Regions from separate parts of the Homo sapiens genome. Here region 1 is linked to region 2. The links are contacts of gene promoters, found by promoter capture Hi-C in human tissues and cell types (Jung and others, 2019). All regions are on one chromosome and are shown on one strand. Each heading gives the region's core, a stretch centred on a gene start or on the middle of the fragment in contact. The rest is flanking DNA. Distances are from core to core; before and after follow the strand shown. Region 1 has its middle 140 kb from the start of C1orf21-DT. Region 2 holds the start of COLGALT2 (collagen beta(1-O)galactosyltransferase 2).

The links. Contacts are between HindIII fragments. The study calls those that stand out against the background at their distance.
Region 1: a contact is called between a fragment that was not itself captured here and the fragment with the promoter of COLGALT2 in region 2, in 2 of the 25 tissues and cell types used here (heart right ventricle and mesenchymal stem cells).

The regions. Positions count from the first base shown.
Region 1 is chr1:184,241,596-184,246,533 of GRCh38, forward strand. No RefSeq gene overlaps it. Among named protein-coding and RNA genes, the nearest start is that of C1orf21-DT, 140 kb to the right of the region's middle. The HindIII fragment of the contact is 4,140 bases long and covers 1-3,700 here.
Region 2 is chr1:184,034,625-184,039,220 of GRCh38, forward strand. COLGALT2 (collagen beta(1-O)galactosyltransferase 2) reads right to left here and starts at 3,104. Exons shown (of 12, transcript NM_015101.4): 1 at 2,471-3,104. The coding sequence starts at 2,733. RefSeq lists a silencer at 2,827-2,916. The HindIII fragment of the contact is 4,544 bases long and covers 900-4,596 here.

The sequences.
Region 1 (4,938 bases), core at 381-2,880, 210 kb after region 2:
GTGTTGCTCATTAAGGAGATAGAAACCATTCAGCAATTCCAGGAAAGATCTCTGCAATCTTTAACACTTCCAGAAAATATAGTCATCATTTCCACATTATCATTCTTTCCCTCTGTCCGCTTGATAATGTTGAGGCCTGTGTTGGCAATAGGACAGATGACAACAAAGATTGACATGTGAATGGCTTTGTCCTGGGGCTTAATGTCTAATTCCTCAACATGATTTCTGATCTAAAATATCCTCCTAAGATGTCCAGAAAATTAAAAAAATATATTTTCTATTGTGCCTGAAGTGAATTCAAATCTCAGATAATGATGTTACTGCTATTCTTAAGTTCTCAGGAATGACTGCTGCCACATTTTAGTCAACTAAGGGCTACTGTCATAGTCAGAGCTACTTTTTCTTTCTTTCCTATCTCTTGCATTGAGGTAGCAAGTATAATTATAGAAGTCATAGAAAGCCAACACAATAGAATTGTTCTTGTTAAGTATTTTTAGAAGGCCTCCTTAACATTTTGTCTTCTTTTTGTTCATTGAACTTATCTTCCCTTACATAAAATATAGTTGTTTAAAAGGAAGAAATGAAGGAACAATTTGTGAATATGCAGGGAGTCCATAGATGTCCCAGAATCCACAGGGCACCATCTCTCCTGTCTTTTCCCTCTATCTCTCTGACTTCCTTTTGCACACATTCTCACCCACCCAACCTTTTAGCACTATCTCTGTAAAGTCTAGCTCAAAACCATAGCCTTTCTCCTTCCCCAGATACCCAAGCCCAGAGCAATCCTCTGAGCTCCTGCAACATCAGGACTATAACTCCATTAGCCTTTAATTGCCAATATTGAGTATGAAATATCATCTTTCTATGTGCATATCTGTCTCCCTAATAGATTATAAGTCTCTGGAGTGCAGAGATCCTCTCATTTGCCTCTTTACACACTTTGTGCATATAGTAACTGGCCTTTGATTAATTACTTCCATGATAAGCTTGACCCTTGTTCTCCCCGGCTAAGCCCTAGAGGTCACCAGATACTTACTTTGTGGCTAATCTCTGGCCTTCCTGCTGTTTACAACCAGGCTTCCTTCTAGCTCTAGAGGATCTTACACAGTACAGAGTCACTGAATAAGCTACTTTCTTTCTTAATCACCTCATTCATTTCATTTATTCTTCCTTGTATTTACTTTGTGGCTAATCTCTGGCCTTCCGGCTGCTTACATCCAGGCCTCCTTCTAGCTCTAGAGGATCTTACCATAGTACAGAGTCACTGAATAAGCTACTTCCTTTCTTAATCACCCTGTTCATCTCATTTATTTCTCCCCACAGATGAGCCACTCTTTCTAATTTGTATCATATTTATTAACTCTCTATCTTCCAGTAACACAACACACACATCTTGAGGCTACACAAAGTCTTGCTAAATGGGATACACTACTACTCTCAGAAGGAAATCAACCACCATAAAAGTTAATGTGCTCACCCCATAAAGAAAAATCTTCCTGACACACAATGGTAGCTTGAAAATTGGTGTATTCATTTTATGACCTCCTTTATTAGCCAGAATGATGCCTTGTTTGATTTCTAAAATTTGTTTAGGATCATTAGCAATGGGCTCCTGGGTGTCACTGACAACTTATACATTAGCCTTGCACACAAGTCCTAGAAATGAGACCAAGGAAACCGCAGTTTTTATTCCTTCTAGGGTATAATTTTTTCTTTCTCCAACCAGTACCTGAATATTTCTCAAATAATTTATATTTTCAGATTTTACAAACATCTCAGCAAGACTATATTAGTTTATTGACCCCATTTTGCAAAAGGGAAGGCAGTTACCAATAGTAGGAGGCTTTTTGGGGCCACGATGGTTTCTTAGATGAGTCAGTATCAGACGTGAGCTCTAATATGACCCTATCTAATTTCTTTTCTCTATTAGGTAGTTTCCTCTGTCCTAAAAAAAAAAAGTAGGAAGAGAAGTATACTAGCTTGCCCCTCTTGTGTGCCTCTGGCTGTCAGAAATAGAATTTGAAAGAGTAGATGAGAAAATGTGAGAAAACCCGTTTACTGATAACTGTTCCTATCTTCTCAGGTTTTTTATCTCTGGCCACAAAGAGTGATTGGGAGAAAACATACTCCAAATAAGTTTTTCTTTCAACTCCTCCTTAACTCTCAAGGCAGTAATTGCCACCCCCTGCCCTCCCTCCCCGGCATCACCACTCTGCTAATACAAACGTGATATTTTACCTTTGCTTCTAGCTTTGGTTCTTTTTAGCAATAATATGTCTTGAGTGGAATGAGATTTTTTCTTCCTTTTTTTTTTTTTTTTGAGACGGAGTCTCACTCTGTCACCCAGGTTGGAGTGCAGTGGCAAGATCTCGGCTCACTGCAAGCTCTGCCTCCCACATTCACGCCATTCTCCTGCCTCAGCCTCCTGAGTAGCTGGGATTACAGGCACCCACCACTATACCTGGCTAATTTTTTGTATTTTTAGTAGAGACGGGGTTTCACCATGTTAGCCAGGATGGTCTTGATCTCCTGACCTCGTGATCCACCCGCCTTGGCCTCCCAAACTGCTGGGATTACAGGCGAGAGCCACTGCACCTGGCCTTTTCCCTCCATTTTTAAACTTTTATTATTATTATTATTTGAGATAGAGTCTTGCTCTGTCACCCAGGCTGGAGTGCAGTGGCGCTGTCTTGGCTCACTGCAACCTCTGCCTCCTGTGTTCAAGCAATTCTCCTGCTTCTGCCTCCAGAGTAGCTGGGATTATAGGCGCATGCCACCAAGCCTGGCTAATTTTTGTATTTTTAGTAGAGACAGGTTTTCCCCATGTTGGCCAGGCTGGTCTTGAACTCCTGACCTTAGGTGATCCATCCACCTCAGCCTCCCAAAGTGCTGGGATTATAGGCATATGATATTTTAATTGAGCATTTCCTATGTGCCAAATAATGTGGTCAGAGCTTATTTTCTAATAAGGGAGTAAAATTTGCATTGTTAACTATGCTAGTAATACCTTCTGGGCTACAACAACATTGTTATCAGTTTCTAGCTACTTAATGATGAGGTCAGATTTGATAAGTTCAGGAGTTGTTTGAACTTCAGAGAAGGTTGATCCAGTGGCTCAATGTTGTCCGCAATGAGCAGATTTTTCTGCCTTTCATCCTAAGGCTGTCATCCCCATCGTGTCAATGTGGCTGAACTGCTTCAAGCTTTACATCCACAAAGCAAACCATCCAGGAGAGATATTTTTCTTGTCAACCATTTCAGAAAAGGCCACATAGCCATCGCTAAATCAATGACCATGGCTAGGCAGTGGGGGGTGTTGATCAGCTGAAGCAAATGAGAGCCCATCTCTAGAACTTTGGGTGAGAAGAGCTTCTTCCCAGATATATAACATAAGGCAGGAGGGAAAGGTGAACACTTGAACAATAATGTAGGATACTACTTGGAAGAGATGGGGAGAGGGGTTAAAAACATCTAGGTAGGCAACCAACAGACCAAACGTCTCCAATACACATCCCTATTTTATCATATCCCAGGCCCCAGGCCAGGCCTTATCACATCATCCTTGGGTTACCTGAGAATTTTCCAGCTGAATTCACAAATGCCTCTTCTCTATTTGGTCTGTATTCATTTACCTAGGAATTTCCACACTTCTCTCTGATAAGTTACCTACTTTTCATCTTTACTTCCTGTATTAGTCTGTTCTCATGCTGTTAAGAAAGACATACACGAGACTGGGTAATTTAGAAAGGAAAGAGGTTTAATGGACTCACAGTTCCACATGACTGGGGAAGCCTCACAATCATGGCAGAAGGCAAAAGAGAAGTGAAGGCATGTCTTAAACTTACATGGCGGCAGGCAAGAGAGCATGTGCAGGGGAACTCCCCTTTATAAAATCATCAGATCTTGTGGCATTTATTCACTATCATGAGACCAGCATGGGAAAGGCCCGCCCCCATGATGCAATTACCTCCCACCAGGTCCCTCCCATGACACGTGGGAATTTTGGGAGCTACAGTTAAAGATGAGATTTGGGTGGGGACACAGCCAAACCATATCACTTTCTTTTCTTTGACATGTCCTGGGATTCTGTTTGCCTTCCAGTCCTCTTTGCAGTAGAGATTAGACCTTCCCTCCCCTACTGGTAGGATTATTCCTCAATCTCCTTTTTCTGCTTTTTATTTTTTTTTTTTTTGCAAGCTTTCCCCAGCCACCTGTTATTTCCACCTTCCCTATGGTACTCCCCAAACACACCCTTCCATTCCTACTCATCCATCAAGAGAAAATGCATGTGATGAAGTCCCATGTTCACATCCCACAACACAGATAGATGGCACCAACAGTAGATGCTCCATATTGTATAGGCGAATGTAAATTGACTTGTGTTTATGCTTCCAAAATGGATATGGTATGTTTCTTTCACTTTATCCCCTTTACACTTACAATTTGACCAGCACTGGCTCAAAACTTTATTTCAACAAGTAAGCAAATCACCAAGAACTCCAGTGCCTAAATCTTGAATTTAGCAGCTCAAACCAGAACCACCAATCTCATAGTAAAACCTAGTCCCATGAGAATCTAATGCAACTTGGGATATGAAAATTATCTTAGTATTCAAATAGCCTCCAGGAGTTGAGATGCTTATCTGATTCTCAAGATTGGAAGTTTCCCCCCTTAGGATCTCAGGATTTGATGATCAGATGTAAAAATCTCTGGTAATTTTGGAACATATTTTGGGCATTTTTTTCAAAACCCGTTATTATTATTATTATCTAGGATATGCTCCATCCAGATACTCCTCTGGTTTTGGGTCACTTCAGCCAGTGAGTTTTTCCTAAGAACTCTTCCCCATCATTCCAAAGCAGCTCTCAGAAAAATCTCTTTTAGAAACGTAGTTAGAAATGATAGGAGCCATCATAAAGAACAGATGGTTACTTTTTG
Region 2 (4,596 bases), core at 1,854-4,353:
GCCTCTCTGTACCTCAGTTCTCTCACCTGTAAAGTGGTATAATAACAGTGCATATCTGATAGGGTCATTTTGAAGCTTAAACCAGAAAATGAATGTGAAGTTCTTAGAAGAACCACGAGCTCTTATTATTATGTGTGGAATTTATAAATAAATGTAATTTTGAGTAAGTCAATCACTTTAAACACATTTCTTCTTCTGGGAAATAGAGATAATTTTATTTCTTCACAGAATGGCAGTAAGAATCAAATGAGTTAACAGTGCATGGAAGTTATTTCCAAAGGTTCTTTACAGCTCCTTTGTGAGCTGAAAAGAACTATTTAGAAACTGGGATTTGTATTATTGTTACCTAAAGAATTACACAATGTTTTAAAGACAGAACCAAAATTTTTCAAAGAAGAGTCTTCAATGACTGACGCAAGCATGGCCTTGCACTTCTTGCTTAACCTGCCAATGCTGGACATAAAAGACAACAGATTTCAAAGGTCTATGCAGAACTGGAATTCTCTCATCTAAGTAAGACACCAGTGTCCATACCATCTGGAACTTACAGGGAACTTAGGATGTACATTGATGCTGGTTGATCCTAATTATATTGCAAAATCTATGGAATTCAAGAGCCATAAAGAATTTTTGAAATCATTTATTCCAACTCCCTCGTTTTATTGATGAGGCAACTGATGCCTATGGATCCCAAGCAACCAGCCCCAAATCACATATCAAACTAGTAATAAACAACTCAAGTCTCCTAATTTGTAGATTATAGGCTTATGTAAATTTTGTTTATATCATGTTTCCTGCCTTTTTAGGGTGGCCTTGGGTTCAAATTCCAGTTTCACCATTTATTAATTCTGTCACTTTAAGTGACTTACTGAACTGATGCAAGTCTGTCTCTTTCTTTGCAAAATAAACATCATAGCATCCTCTTAAAAGTTTACTGTATGATAAAAAGAGGTAATGTCTCTAAATCAGGTAGCAAAGCATGTGCCTGACACCTGCTTCACCACTCACCAACTTCTTATGGTAAATACTGTAACGTTTTAAAAAACTAAATCATGCATAAAGATCAAAACCATATTTTAAAATATCTCTTAAAAAAAACACAACAACTAAGGTAACTGATATGTGTGAATTTCTTTTGGTACCGAAGTGGTTAAAAAAAAATCCTTCCTTCTGGTTTAAAGCCTGGCTGTCCCAGTGCTCTCTTTCCACATAATATGCCCTTCTCCGCCAGGCGGTCACGTATGGCAGGGTATATAGTAAAGCAGTGTACAGCACAGAGCTGTACTATATCACATGTTTGCTTTCGCACCTTTGCACCTCTCCCACCAGGTACTCTGAGGCTGCCAATTCTAGCTGCTGCTTTTACTCCTCTTCCTCTCTTTGCCCAACCGCTGCTTTAAGGATGTGTCTCGCCTGAGAACAGCTCCCTTTATCAACACAAGACAGAAATTGCTCCAGAGTGACCTGGGCTCTGTCTTCCTCAGGGGGCCAGAGTCTTCTTGTCCGAGTACCTACCTGACAGCACATCTCCCCTGGCCAGCATCCACCTCCTTGTCCTCCACAACCCACTCAGCGGCTAACCTGGCCACCAACTAACTTCTCGCCCTCGGATCCTCGCGTTTATAAAAGGTGCGAGACGACCAAGTTCTACAAGGTGGGGCGGGCAGGCACCCGCACTTATCCCCTGGCCCTCCCCGCAGCAGACACAGGGACCAGGTCCAAGCTTCTTTCCTCCGGGGACAAAACTTGGCTGTTTATCTTTCCCAGGGCATCTTCGTCTCTCCCCGGGACGTGGAACCCCGATGCACCGGCAGGGACAGCCCGGAGCGCTCGCAGGAGACCAGGCCCACGGTGGTGCCATGGTTGGGCACACTCCGCGGGCTCCGCCCAATCTCCACCCCTAGGTCCAGGTCCCCCTAGGAGAGCTAGGAGCACATTTCCAGCCTGGAGCAGGAGCCCGGCACCGGAAAGTCAGAGCAGCGCACTGCGGCGCCCCAGCCACTGCGGAGCCCCTGGCCAACCGCAGTTACGTTCCATCTGTCGTATCTACATGGGAATACGGCGACAGGCACCCTATCCCCTCACGTCAGGGCTAGCAGTATGAGGTGGGGAAAGAGGAAACCTCGAGAGTTAAAAGCGAGGGAACTGAAAGTCCCCTTGAGGGGTGTCCCCCATGCCCCTTGTGGGACAAAGCCCCAATTCGCAGGCTACCCTCCAGAGCTCCAGCGGTCCGGTTCTCCCCATCAGCACCCTCTGCGCACACTGACCCGCGCGTCCCTCCGCAGCCTGACCGCCCGATCCGCCAGCCACCGGCGCGGGCAGCGAGGGGGTGTGTGCGCCAGATTTTCCGCGTGCCCCCCCGCCCCTCCAGCGGCTCCCTCGCCCTGCAGCTGCTGCTCCGGGCGCTGTCCGCGCTGGGCAGGCCGCCCCCGCGTCCCGCCGCGGCGGCCCGGGGCCCGTGCGCGCTCACCAGATGGCCATCCTGCTCTTGGGGTAGTCCAGCCGCTCCAGGCAGCCGAGGAAGTGCGGCAGCGTGTGCGCCGCGTTGCGGGCGAGGACCGCCACGAGCACCGTGGGGCTCTGCAGGGGCGACTCCGGGAAAACCACCGGCTCCTCTCCGTCGTCCTCCGAGTCCCGCTCGGCGACGAAGCGCGCTCGGCAGCCTTCGCGGAGCAGGGCTGAGGAGAGGAGCAGTAGCGACCAGGCGAGGGTGGCAGCAGGGCGCGCAGCCATGTTCCGGGCCGAGGCGGGCGGCGGGGAAGTCCTGGCGCGAGCGCCCGGCTGGGCTGCCTGAGGGCGGCGGCGGCTGCCGGGGAGCAAGGGGCTGCGAGGGGCGGCCGGGGGATGCGGCTTGCCGCGGCCGGCCGGCTCACACACTGGCCTCGGCGGCTGCGGTTCCCAGGACCCTCCCGCCGCCGCTGCACCGCCCAGGCCCCAGTGCGGGTGCGCAGCGTACCTGCAGCCGCTGGCGCTCCCCTGCGCCTCGGGCTCGCAGACAGTAGTGGCCGAGGGGCTGTGTGCCCTGAGTCCTGAGGAAAGTTCCTCTAGTCCAGGTTCCGCTCGTACAGCTGAGGTCTGTGGCCTTCCCTAGAGCCGCGAGTTGTGGCCCTGTCTGCCAATGAGCCTGTGAGTGTGTGTGTGTGTGTGTGTGTGTGTGTGTGTGTGTGTACATAACGGTACAACCCCAAGAAAATTTATTCTGCTTTTGCAAACCGCAGACTGAAGCCCTTCACAGTGATGCAATGTATCCAGTTTTCATAATGCACCTATTGACTGAGTAGAGTTCTAAAATGAAAAGTCTCCCCAACTATTCACGATTATGACAAACACTTGTTTAACCACCGCAAAGGCAGCATGTCGCATTTTCTTATATACTCAACTTCTGAAATTCATTCTTGACTGAGTAGACACCTAATAACACAAAGTTTGAAGACTTGGAGAATTTTGGAGCCAGATCAGACCCCGCAAAATAAAAGAAAGCCCTTGGGAGACACTGTCCTGAAGCCTCACTCTACTGTGAACCCAGTAAGCCTCCTCACAGGAGGGCTGTGAAAGAATAAATTCACTTAGCTGGTTTTCTTTTTCCGTAATAAGCCAATATGATAGAGTAACAAAGAGGGAAAATTCGCGCATGTTGGAGAGCAGAGAAGAGATAAGGAAGAAAAGAAGGGGTGAAGGAAGAACACAATTAGCACATAAAATGAAACTGCTGGCATACACTGCTAAAGGAGATTTACTTTTTTTTTTTTTTTTTTTTTGAGACAGGGCCTCACTCTGTTGCCGGGGCTGGAGTGCAGAGGCACGATCACAATTCACTGCAGCCTCGACCTCCTGGGCTCAAGCAATCCTCCCACCTCAGCCTCCCGAGTAGCTGGGACCACAGGTGTCCATCACCACGCCTAGCTAATTTTTTTTTTTTTTTTTTTTTTTGTAGAGACGGGTTTTCACCATTTTGCCCAGGCTGGTCTGGAACTCCTGGGCTCAAGTGATCTGCCCAACTCGGCCTCCCAAAGTGTTACGATTACAGGCATCAGCCACCATGCTCGGCTGGATATTTAGTTTTGAAGATATATTGTGTAGCCTTTGATAGATAAGTATGGAGGGTGTTTTGGTGCCAGTGCACATTCATGATCTCCAATCCCAACTCACCCTCAGGTCTGTCCCATAGTCTTTTTATTAGTTGTTATCAATCCTTCTCAGCAACTATTAGAAGTCTTCCCTACTGTCTTTTGAAGTATATCACCTCCTTCATCCAGCTCCCCCAACACCACTGTCTCCAACTAGCATCCCTACCAAGACCTTTCTTACTTGCAGGTGCCTCCTCACGACAGGGTCTTTGATCACAGACTAGAAAGGGAGAGGTCTCCCTTTCTAGCCCATGATTTTTCTCTATCATTCCACTCTCTACTGAATCTTCAACTGATCTCTATCAACTCCTTTCTCTCAAGCTAAATACTTGGTCAGTCTTCTCTTATCCGTTAAAAAAAAAAGAAAGAAAAGCTTTAAAAAAAAGTCCTGTGTCTTCTTCTAGTCATCCCTTTGCTTGACCAAGCTCCTTGGAAGAGAGATCTATACTTGTATTCTCCACTTCTTCAT